3 separate regions of the Homo sapiens genome follow, and regions 1 and 3 are each linked to region 2. The links are contacts of gene promoters, found by promoter capture Hi-C in blood cells and fetal thymus (Javierre and others, 2016). All regions are on one chromosome and are shown on one strand. Each heading gives the region's core, a stretch centred on a gene start or on the middle of the fragment in contact. The rest is flanking DNA. Distances are from core to core; before and after follow the strand shown.

Evidence for each region. Contacts are between HindIII fragments. The CHiCAGO score rates a contact against its expected background, and 5 or more counts as called.
Region 1: a fragment that was not itself captured here is called in contact with the fragment with the promoter of C20orf173 in region 2 in 1 of 17 cell types (naive CD8 T cells); the score reaches 5.1 in naive CD8 T cells.
Region 3: a fragment that was not itself captured here is called in contact with the fragment with the promoter of C20orf173 in region 2 in 1 of 17 cell types (erythroblasts); the score reaches 5.4 in erythroblasts.

The regions. Positions count from the first base shown.
Region 1 is chr20:35,865,843-35,869,197 of GRCh38, reverse strand. The region is part of intron 6 of PHF20 (PHD finger protein 20); the gene reads right to left. Among named protein-coding and RNA genes, the nearest start is that of SCAND1, 87 kb to the left of the region's middle. The HindIII fragment of the contact is 965 bases long and covers 1,224-2,188 here.
Region 2 is chr20:35,528,374-35,532,067 of GRCh38, reverse strand. It overlaps C20orf173 (chromosome 20 open reading frame 173), which reads left to right and starts at 2,416. Exons shown (of 6, transcript NM_001145350.2): 1 at 2,416-2,509; 2 at 2,644-3,003; 3 at 3,189-3,367; 4 at 3,524-3,617. The coding sequence starts at 2,695. The HindIII fragment of the contact is 24,584 bases long and covers 1-3,694 here.
Region 3 is chr20:35,944,355-35,947,875 of GRCh38, reverse strand. PHF20 (PHD finger protein 20) reads right to left here. Exons shown (of 18, transcript NM_016436.5): 18 at 1-391. The coding sequence ends at 249. Among named protein-coding and RNA genes, the nearest start is that of SCAND1, 8.4 kb to the left of the region's middle. The HindIII fragment of the contact is 1,620 bases long and covers 1,236-2,855 here.

The DNA of each region.
Region 1 (3,355 bases), core at 457-2,956, 340 kb before region 2:
AGCTCCAGTTTTCAACCTCTACTTGCTACATTAATTATCTTAGCACTGGGCCTAGTTTTGAGGGTACAAGAAAAATGTCCAAGAGAATTTGTGGATTTTTTTTTTTTGAGATGGAGTCTCGCTCTGTCACCCAAGCTGGAGTGCAGTGCCGCGATCTCTGCTCACTGCAACCTCCGCCTCCCAGGTGCAAACGATTCTCCTGCCTCAGCCTCCGGAGTAGGTGGGATTACAGGCACCCGACACCACACCCGGCTAATTTTTGTAATTTTAGTAGAGTCACGGTTTCCCCATGTTGGTCAGGCTGGTCTCAAATTCCTGACCTCAAGTGATCCAGCTGCCTCGTCCTCCCAAAGTTCTGGGATTACAAGCATGAGCCATGAGACCCAGCCGAGAATTTGTATTTTCTTAAACAAAATCCTAAAAAAATTCTTGGGAGACTATGCTAGTTAACAGTCAATGTTTCAGGCAAGGCTGCTGGTCCCCAGCAAACCCAGCTCTGACATAATTTAGCAGTACAGACGCTAAGCCTTTGAAGAGTACTTACTATTTAGATTTTGTTTGCTTGCTTGCTTGCTTGCTTGCTTGTTTTTTTGAGATGAAGTCTGGGTCTGTTGCCCAGGCTAGAGTGCAGTGGCACGATCTCGGCTCACTGCTACCTCTGCCTCCTGGGTTCAAGTGATTGTCCTGCCTCAGCCTTCCCTGTAGCTGGGATTACAGGCACCTGCCATACCTAGCAAAATTTTTTTTTTTTTGTATTTTTAATAGAGATGGGGTTTCACCATGTTGGCCAGGCTGGTCTTGAACTCCTGACATCAAGTGATCTGCCCGCCTCAGCCTCCCAAAGTGCTGAGATTACAGGTGTGAGCCACCTGCCCAGCATAGTATTTACTATTAACTTTTTTTTGAGATAGAGTTTTGCTCTCGTTGCCCAGGCTGGACTGCAATGGTGCGATCTCAGCTCACCGCAAGCTCTGCCTCCCGGGTTCAAGTGATTCTCCTGCCTCAGCCTCCCAAGTAGCTGGGATTACAGGCATGCGCCACCACACCTGGCTAATTTTGTATCTTTAGTAGAGACAGGGTTTCTCCATGTTGGTCAGGCTGTTCTCGAACTCCTGACCTCAGGTGATCTGCCTGCCTTGACCTCCCAAAGTGCTGAGATTACAGGCGTGAGCCACCATGCCCAGCCCTTACTATTTTGTTTTAAACCTACCACCTAAGAAGCTTACCCCAAATCAGAAAAGATGAGAATTGAAAAGGCAGGCAGAAGAAAGAAACTGGGAAGTTGGGCAGGAAGGCAGAGCTAAGGGGTCTCAGGAAGGGTGAAAGGAGGAGAGAGAAGAGGAAGGAGGAAAGGAAGAGGGAAGAAGAGAAGTAAATGGGAGGAAAAGAGGAAGGGAAGGGAGAAAGATGAGAAGAGGGGAAGAGGGACAGAAAAGACTCATCTAAGACCTGTAGCTTCAGGTCGGTCAAATGGCTCAACAAGACACGGCCTGAAGTGTGAGGAAGCAAACCAGAGAAGACTGTTGAACTCTGAGGCTCTTCCTGTGTTCCAACTTCCCAATGGGCCAATATTATTTTGTTCCAACTGGCAGAACTTGGAAATCCCACACATTCCAAGTTAAACATAAATACAAACAGGCTGGGTGTGGTGGCTCACGCCTGTAATCCCAGCACTTTGGGAGGCAGAGACAGGCAGATCACTTGAGCTCAGGAGTTCAAGACTAGCATAGCCAACATGGTGAAACCCTGTCTCTACTAAACATACAAAAAATTAGCCAGGCATGGTGGCACATGCCTGTAGTCCCAGCTACTTGGGAGGCTGAGGCACAAGAATCACTTGAACCCAGGAGGCGGTGGTTACAATGAGCCGAGATCATGCCACTGCACTCCAGCCTGGGAGACAGAGTAAGACTCCATCTCAAAAAAATAAAAATTAAAATATATATAAACAACCCTCTCTAAATAGCTCAGATCCTGTTCCCAATCAAGTCTATACAATCTAGGGTGCTCAAGGAAGGCTCTACAAATCAATGAACTTATTCCAAGTAATGTTTTAAGGGGATGTGAACAATATATGGGATACTTGGCAAGTCTTCTTCCCTTTGATACCGTATATAAATAGGAGCTGACTGTACAGAACTTGAGTGTTTCCCAAACTCTTCTTACAGTATAAGTCATCTGGGAAGCTTGTTAACAATTCATATTCCCAGATTCCCATCCAGACAGTCTGACTGGAAAAGAACTGAGGCATGGCTGGAATCTGTTTTCACAAATGCCTTGGGCAAGGATTAACCATAAACTTAGAAAACATCCCTTCTATATTAAATTTATCCTACTCATTATGAAATCCTACACTTATAAAAATATAAAAACTGAATGTCCTTGTTCTTATCTCAATGGAGTCATGTGGCTTCAAAGGAGCAGTCTGCTTGTTGGGGTACAACTACTTCTGTACATACCTTCTGGAGGGTATAAGCCAGGGCATGAATACCTAAAGGAGAATTAGTTTCAAAACACTCAATTCTCATACATACTCTTTCCTAAACTGAGCTAAGGACATGTCAGATTTCTGCCTAAGGACATGTCAGATTTCTGCCAGTTTACATTTTCCACCTCTCCTTGTATAATAACTGCCTTTAACTGCCCTTCTCCCACTTTACATAAAAGGGCCTGCCTCTCACTCATCCCACATCTTAACATGGTGCTCAGCCTGGAGGTTTAAAACTTCCAGATTTTCTCAACTGGGGTTCCCCATCTGAACAGAGATATATTTTCTCTGTTTTCCTAAGGGTGGTATACAGCTAGTACCATTCTCAATGCACTAAGGTCAATCCATCACAGATCAAGGATGCCTTGGGTATTGTGGCTTCTCTCCCAAAACTCAGTTGAGAAAGCCAGTGAACATAAAGTCAGTGCTGTCCAACAGAAATATACTAAGAGTGCAAGCCACATGTAATTTTATTTTATTTTATTATTTTTTGTTTTTTTGAGATGGAGTCTCGCTCTGTCACCCAAGCTGGAGAGCAGTGGTGCGATATCGGCTCACTGTAACCTCTGCCTCCTGGGTTCAAGAGATTCTCCTGCCTCAGCCTCCCAAGTAGGTGGGATTACAGGTGCATGCCACCACGCTCATCTAATTTTTGTGTTGTTAGTAGAGATGGGGGTTTCACCATGTTGGCCAGGCTGGTCTCGAACTCCTGACCTCAGGTGACCCACCCATGTTGGTCTCCCAGAATGCTGGGATTACAGGCATGAACCACCATGCCCGGCCAATTTTTGTATTTTTAGTGGAGACGGGATTTCACCATGTTGGCCAGCCTGGTCTCAAATTCCTGAGCCACCACGCCTGGCCAAT
Region 2 (3,694 bases), core at 1,167-3,666:
TATAATTAACTAGCCTACACACCTTACTCAGATATTTGGGTGAATTGATTTAAAAGCTATACAATATCCAGTGCAGCTTTCCACTAGTTAAGATGAAGAATTTTACTGTTCTTATCCCATTGAATAAAATGTTTTGATTTTTTTTAAAAACCAAAATGTTCTGTTTTTTTCTTAAACTTTAAAAACAACTCAAACATTTTCATTTTTTTACTATCTTTACAAGACTACAATTGAATTAAGGGGGTGGCAGTGGAGATGAAGAAGATGACTTAGAAATAGAAACGAATTAAAAAATGGATTTGAGGCCAGACTCAGTGGCTTATGCCTGTAATCTCAGCACTTTGAAAGGCCGAGGAGGGTGGATCACTTGAGCTGAGTTCGAGACAGGGCTGGCACAGTAAACCCCATCTCTACTTAAAAAAAAAAATCAGCAAGGCTCGGTGGCTCACGCCTGTAATTCCAGCACTTTGGGAGGCCGAGGTGGGCGGATTGCTTGAGACCAGGAGATGGAGACCAGCCTAGCCAACACAGTGAAACCCCGTTTCTACCAAAAAAATACAAAAATGAGCCAGGTGTGGTGTTGTGCGCCTGTAGTCCCAGCTACCTGGGAGGCTAAGGCATGAGAATCACTTGAACCTGGGAGGTAGAGGTTGCAGTGAGCCAAGATTGTGCCACTGCACTCCAGCCTGGGCGACAGAGTGAGACTCTGTTTCAAAAATAAATTAAATAAATAAATAAGCCTAGCGTGGTGGCACACTTCTGTAGTCCCAGCATCTTGGCAAGCTGAGGTGAAAGGATTGCTTGAACCTTGGAGGCAGAGGCTACAGTGGGCTAAGATTGTGCCACTGCACTCCTGCCTGGGTGACAGAGTGAGACTTTGTCCTAAAAAAAAAAAAAAAAAAAGAATTTGGGTATCATAGGAGTAGGAGGAATTAATAACACATGAGTTCTGGTTTCAATAACTGGGTACGTGGTGGAACCATTTGTTGAGATAGAGAAGTTTTGAAGCTGGGTGCAGTGGCTCACGCCTGTAATCCCAGTACTTTGGGAGGCCGAGGTGGGCAGATTACCTGAGGTCAGGAGTTTGAGATCAGCCTGGCCAACATGGTGGAATCCCGTTTGTACCAAAAATACAAAAAATTAGCCGGGCTTGGTGGCACGCACCTGTAATCCCAGCTATTCGGGAGGCAGAGGCAGGAGAATTGCTTGAACCCCGGAGGAGGCAGAAGTTGCAGTGAGCTGAGATTGCGCCACTGCACTCCAGCCTGGGTGACAGAGCAAGACTCTGTCTCAAACAAAACAAAAGAGACAGAGAAGTTTTGGGAAGGGTTGGTTTACAGGGAAAATCCTGGGTTCAGTCTCAGGCTTATTCAGGTGAGATGTCTCTGAGCCATCTAAGTGGCAATTCAGTAGGCTGTTGGATATGGGGTCTAGAGACTACAAGAGAGGATTGAGTTGATGTCACACAACTCCAGAGAGGGCATCACACACAAGTATATTTAAAGTTCCAGGCTGGGGCGGGGTGCAGTGGCTCATGCCTGTAATCCCAACACTTTGGGAGGCCAAGGCGGGCGGATCACCTGAGGTCAGAAGTTCGAGATCAGTCTGACCAACATGGGGAAACCCCGTCTCTACTAAAAATACAAAAAAATTAGCCAGGCGTGGTGGCGGGCACCTGTAATCCCAGCTACTTGGGAAACCGAGGCAAGAGAATCACTTAAACCCGGGAGGTAGAGGGTGCAGTGAGCCGAGATCGTGCCTCTGCACTCCAGCTGGGGCGACAAGAGTGAAACTCCGTCTCAAAATAATAATAATAATAATAATAATAATAATAATAATAATAATAATTTAAAAATAAAGTTCCCGGCTGGGCATGGTGGTTCACGCCTGTAATTCCAGCACTTTGGGAGGCTGAGGTGGGCGGATCACTTGAGGTCAGGAGTTTGAGACCAGCCTGGCCAATATGGCGAAACCCTGTCTCCACTAAAAATATAAAAATTAGCCAGGCGTGGTGGCGCATGCCTGTAGTCCCAGCTACTTGGGAGGCTGAGGCATGAGAATCGCTTGAACCAGGCAGGCGGAAGTTGCAGTGAGCCAAGATCATGCCACTGCACTCCAGCCTGGACAACAGAGCAAAAACTCCATCTCAAAAAAAAAAAAAAAAGTTCCCTCTCAACCCCTGTTTATTTATCCCATAAATATTTATTAAATGATTCTAAGTCTTAGAGCTGCAGAGGTGAAGAAGAGAGACTAGGTCAGCCCCTGTCCTCATGAATCTTACATCCAGTGGAGGTCATTTCGGTGTCAGAGAAAGGGTAGGGTGGTGGCTTTTTTCAGGCAGGCTAAAGGAGGGAGGTCACAATGTGTACTTTGTGATGAGATCTATGATATAACTGGGATGACAGCAAGGCCCCCACTGAGGTATTCCTTCCCCTCTCAGGACTAGCCACATGCTGTCTCTCTGCCCTGGCCTCTTCCACCCCATGCCCAGTCAGAGACCGTTTTGAGGGTGAGCAAATGGATAGTGAGGCAGGAGAGGAGGGGTTGGAAGGAGGTGGAAGGTGGTGGGATGGGGAGTTGTGGAGGCCGACAGGACAGAGGGAAGCTGGTGCTGTCTGTGGCCTCAGCCCCTCATCCTTACAGGTAGAGAAGCCAGTCTACGGCCCACCACGGGAGCCACCGCCTGGGCCAGACATGAAGCGCTGGCAGATTTTTGTCCTGTGGGTCTTTTGGGTGCTCATCCTCTGGCTGATGACCCCCTATCTGGATCTGACACCTGAATCAGCACCCCAGGAAAAACGAATGTACTTGGTACCACAGCATTGCGACTGCCCTTGGTTCAGTTCCGGGAAGTGTGGCTGCCCTTCTGAGACCCTCAACTGCTCCTCCTGCCACCACACAGCCGACGAATGGAACTGGCTTGATGCGTGCTCCAGGAAGACTATGGGGTACCTGATGAGGACAAGAGAGTCTATGACCTCTGACACTGTGCTCTGGTGGTTGGTCAGTGGTCAACACTGGGCCCGGCCATATCCCCCATGCTTTCCGGGCCTCACCCATCTCCCACTTTCCGCCCAAATCCCTGCCCTTGGCCCTGTCTTCACAGCCTCTGGATGGAGATCTCACCCACCCAGCTCTGTTTTCTCTCCCCTGGGCCCAGCCCCCAATCTCCCTCTTGCTGTTTCCAGGGCATGAACTCAGGGAGCGAGCTTGGGAAATTGTGGAGGAAGCTGTTTAAAGGGATTCCCAGGCTCTCGGTGAGCCATTTTGATTTCTATTGTGGGACTTGTGTGCTGTTGGGGCGCCCACAGATCCCGCAGGGCTCCAGCCTTGGCAACGACATCGACCAATACCCCGTGGTTTTCAGGTGGGTGCTGGGGAGAGGGCGGGAGCAGGAAGGCCAGGCCTGCCCCACAGTTCCATCAGTTTCTGCTCCCCTTCCCAAGATGAAGCAGGCCCCAAGTCCAGGGCTTTGAGATGGACGTGGGGAACCAAACCACACACAATGCTTCATCTATCCCAGGAATGCCAGCGACCAGGGCTCCTGGATGCAGCTGGAGATGCTACTGCGGAAGCTCTCTGACCTGGTGTGGACTTCAGATGCTCTAAGTGATAAGGTGATGGAGGTGTCCCCAGACATTCTCTGTGTGGGGGTGAGGGGAGGTCACTGCAGGGAGTAACAGCAGGGGCTCTG
Region 3 (3,521 bases), core at 796-3,295, 420 kb before region 2:
ACGATGTGCACAGAAGAGGGGAATCCCAAGAGTCTATTTGCTACCTTTATGGCAGGCTTCGAGATCAGAGTGTCCTCCCGCAGCCAAAATGGCCTCTTTGTCCAATGTCCACCACACTCCTGGCCCAGATCCCTGAAGTCAGTCGGTGTCACGTGCATTCAGCATGCTAGGTTTATTTATTTAAATATGCGAAGCTCCTCCTGCAGGTGCCCCAGGATTGTGCCCCCATGAGTTTTGGGTGCCCAGTTTCATGTTGAGCAGCAGAGGGCGATCTGCTGCACCTTGCCCAGGTCCATCAGCAGCTGCTTGATACAATGCTTGAGCTGCGGAAGCCTGGCCAGCGGCTCAGGGGGCTCCAGTTCCCCAGTGTAGTCCAGCCAGCTCTCCAACACTGTCGGCAGAAGAGAGAGATGAGACCTAGTGAACTCCCAACACTTGATTTGCAAGAACATCAGCAAGCATTTCAGCACCTTATTCCATCAGACATGGGGCAAGGGAGGAAGGGCCATTTCAGCCTCCATGGGGCAAGGGAGGAAGGGCCATTTCAGCCAGCACTGTGTCAACACCTGCTCTACAAAGTGGTACTCCCAGGACAAAACACAAATGCTTTAGAGCAGCACAGTCCAAAAGAACTTTCTGCGATGATCAATGGTCCAAGTCTGTGTCATCCAATACAGTAGCCACTAGCCTTATGCAGCTATTGAGCGCTGGAAACATGGCTAATGCAACTGAGGAACTGAATTTTAAATTTTATTCAGTTTTGGTTAAACAGCCACACATTGCCAGAGGCTACTGTTACCAGAGTCTAGAAGTCTTGGAAGGAAGCACCTTTCTGAGTGTTACCACTCACTCTTTAAAAAGCTTTCCCAGCCGGGCGCGGTGGCACATGCCTATAATCCCAGCACTTTGGGAGGTCGAGGCGGGCAGATCACAAGGTCAAGAGATCAAGACCATCCTGGCCAACATGGTGAAACCCCATCTCCACTAAAAATACAAAAATTAGCCAGGCATGGTGGTGCCCGTCTGTAGTCCCAGCTACTCAGGAAGCTGAGGCAGGAGAATTGCTTGAACCCGGGAGGCGGAGGTCGCAGTGAGCCGAGATCGTGCCACTGCACTCCAGCCTGGCGACAAAGCGAGACTCCATCTCAAAAAATAAAATAAATAAAATAATAAAATAAAATAAAATAAAATAAATAAAATAAAATAAAATAAAATAAAATAAAAAATAAAAAGCTTTCCCATGTTGAAAATCAGAGAGCCTGGTGTTTTAGCATCCTGTCAAGAAAAATGAAAATCTATAGGGTCTTGAAAAGGTCTATTTGTATATCATAAACTCTGATTTGCTTCATATTAATTCCTGATTGATACGCAATCATCAGTGGCACAGAATACTCTGTTATTATTTTCTCCCTTTATTTATTTACTTATTTATTTATTTTTTTGAGATGGAGTCTCACTGTGTCGCCCAGGCTGGAGTGCAGTGGCGCCATCTCAGCTCACTGTAATCTCTGCCTCCTAGGTTCAAGCGATTCTCCTGCCTCAGCCTCCAAAGTAGCTGGGATTACAGGCATGTGCCACCACGCCCGGCGAATTTTTGTATTTTGGTCTCAAACTCCTGACCTCAGGTGATCCACCCACCTCGGCCTCCCAAACTGCTAGGATTACAGGCATGAGCCACTGGGCCTGGCCTTTTTTTTTCTTTTGAGACAGAGTTTCGCTCTTGTTGCCTGGGCTGGAGTACAATGGCAATGATCTCGACTCACTGCAACCTCCGCCTCCCGGGTACAGGCGATTCTCCTGCCTCAGCCTCCTGAGGAGATGGTATTACAGGCACACACCACCACGCCTGGCTAATTTTTGTTATTTTTAGTAGAGATGGGGTTTCATCATGTTGGCCAGGCTGGCCTCGAACTCCTGACCTCAGGTGATCCACCTGCCTTGGCCACTTTGAAAGTGCTAGGATTACAGGCATGAACCACCATGCAGGACCCCTTTAAATATTTAATGTAAGATTTCAGGTATTAATTAACATTATCATCATTGGTTCAATATCTAGAAAGCTGTCTTGCTTGTGAGAACAAGTATTTCTCTACAGAAAGATGTTTGTTCTTCCCTAAGCTACCCCCTAAAGCTCTGGCATTTGGGGAGAGACCATCTGGGAACCCTGCACCTTTGACAAGAACCACCCCCTGCAGGTAGCCCCTGTGCTATCCCAGCCTGCCTGTAGCCTTTCTAGTCCATGCACCAACCTGTACTGAGCACCTTCTGGACCCTGGAGTGCAGCAAAAGAAAGGCCCACCCAGTACCTCTTCATCAAGCAGCCTGCAACCTACTGCGCAATCCTCTCCTGTCCTCAGATGCAGCCCTACCTTCCTCTCCACCTTTCTAAATCCTCTGTTTCTTGTGAGCTATTCTTTAGGGAAGCCTTCCCCAACCCTATACCCTGAATCTGGTCCTTGTGTTACAGGTGCTATGATATCACATGTTCTCCTTTGAGCATTTACTATGGTTTGTCATTACAGGTAATGGGATGATTTGTTTAATATATGTCTCTCCCACTAGATCAAGTTCCACGAGGGCAAAGGCTGAGTCTGCCTTGCTTGCCACTATATCCCTAACACTCACCTGTGTCTGAAATGTGGCAAGCCTGCAACAAACACAGCGAGAGAAGGAATGTGTGGTCCAGCAAAGCGCCCTACCCATTGCTCTGGGCCCTATGTAGTTTATCCTCCTCCATCATATTTCTTGTTGGTATTTGGGGGTTCCAAGAAGGAGGAACCCTCTCTCTTCCTAATTCCAGCAAGTACAAGGACTTGGAAATAAGAAAAATAAGACCACCTCCTCAGACTTAAGCTTGAAAACCATTAGTAAAAGATCAGTCATGTGAGAGGAACTAGTGGCCTGCTGAGCAAGAAAACTGGATAGTGACCAGTTTCAAAACACCAGTAAGTCTTTAAAAAAAACTAGAAGGAGACAGGGGACTGTTCAGCAAACAGGCAGAAGAATAAATGGAGAGGCCGGACGTGCACGCCTGTAATCCCAACACCTTGGGAGGTCAAGGGAGGTGGATCACCTGAGGTCAGAAATTCAAGACAAGCCTGGCCAACATGGTGAAACCCCATCTCTATTAAAAATACAAAATCAGCCAGGTGTGGTGGCAGGCATCTGCCTGCTACTTGGGAGGCTGAGGAAGGAAGAGTCGCTTAAACCTGGGAGGCAGAGGCTTCAGTAAGCCGAGATCATGCCACTGTACTCCAGCCTGGGCGAGAAAGAGCAAGACTCCGTCTTAAAAAAATAAAATAAAATAAAAATAAATAAATGGACAAAAGGCAGTCAGGACTGGATGGGTCACTCCAACAGCAAAGAGAGTCAGTCAATCTTTTGCAAGATGATCCTACAGTTGCTGAGAGGCCCCTCTTAAGGTCACCCTAACTACCTTGGATCTAGTTCCAGGCTCACCAAAGACATCCCGATACTACGGTGGCCCAGGAGGCATGCACAGTGTGAAAGCGCACCAACGC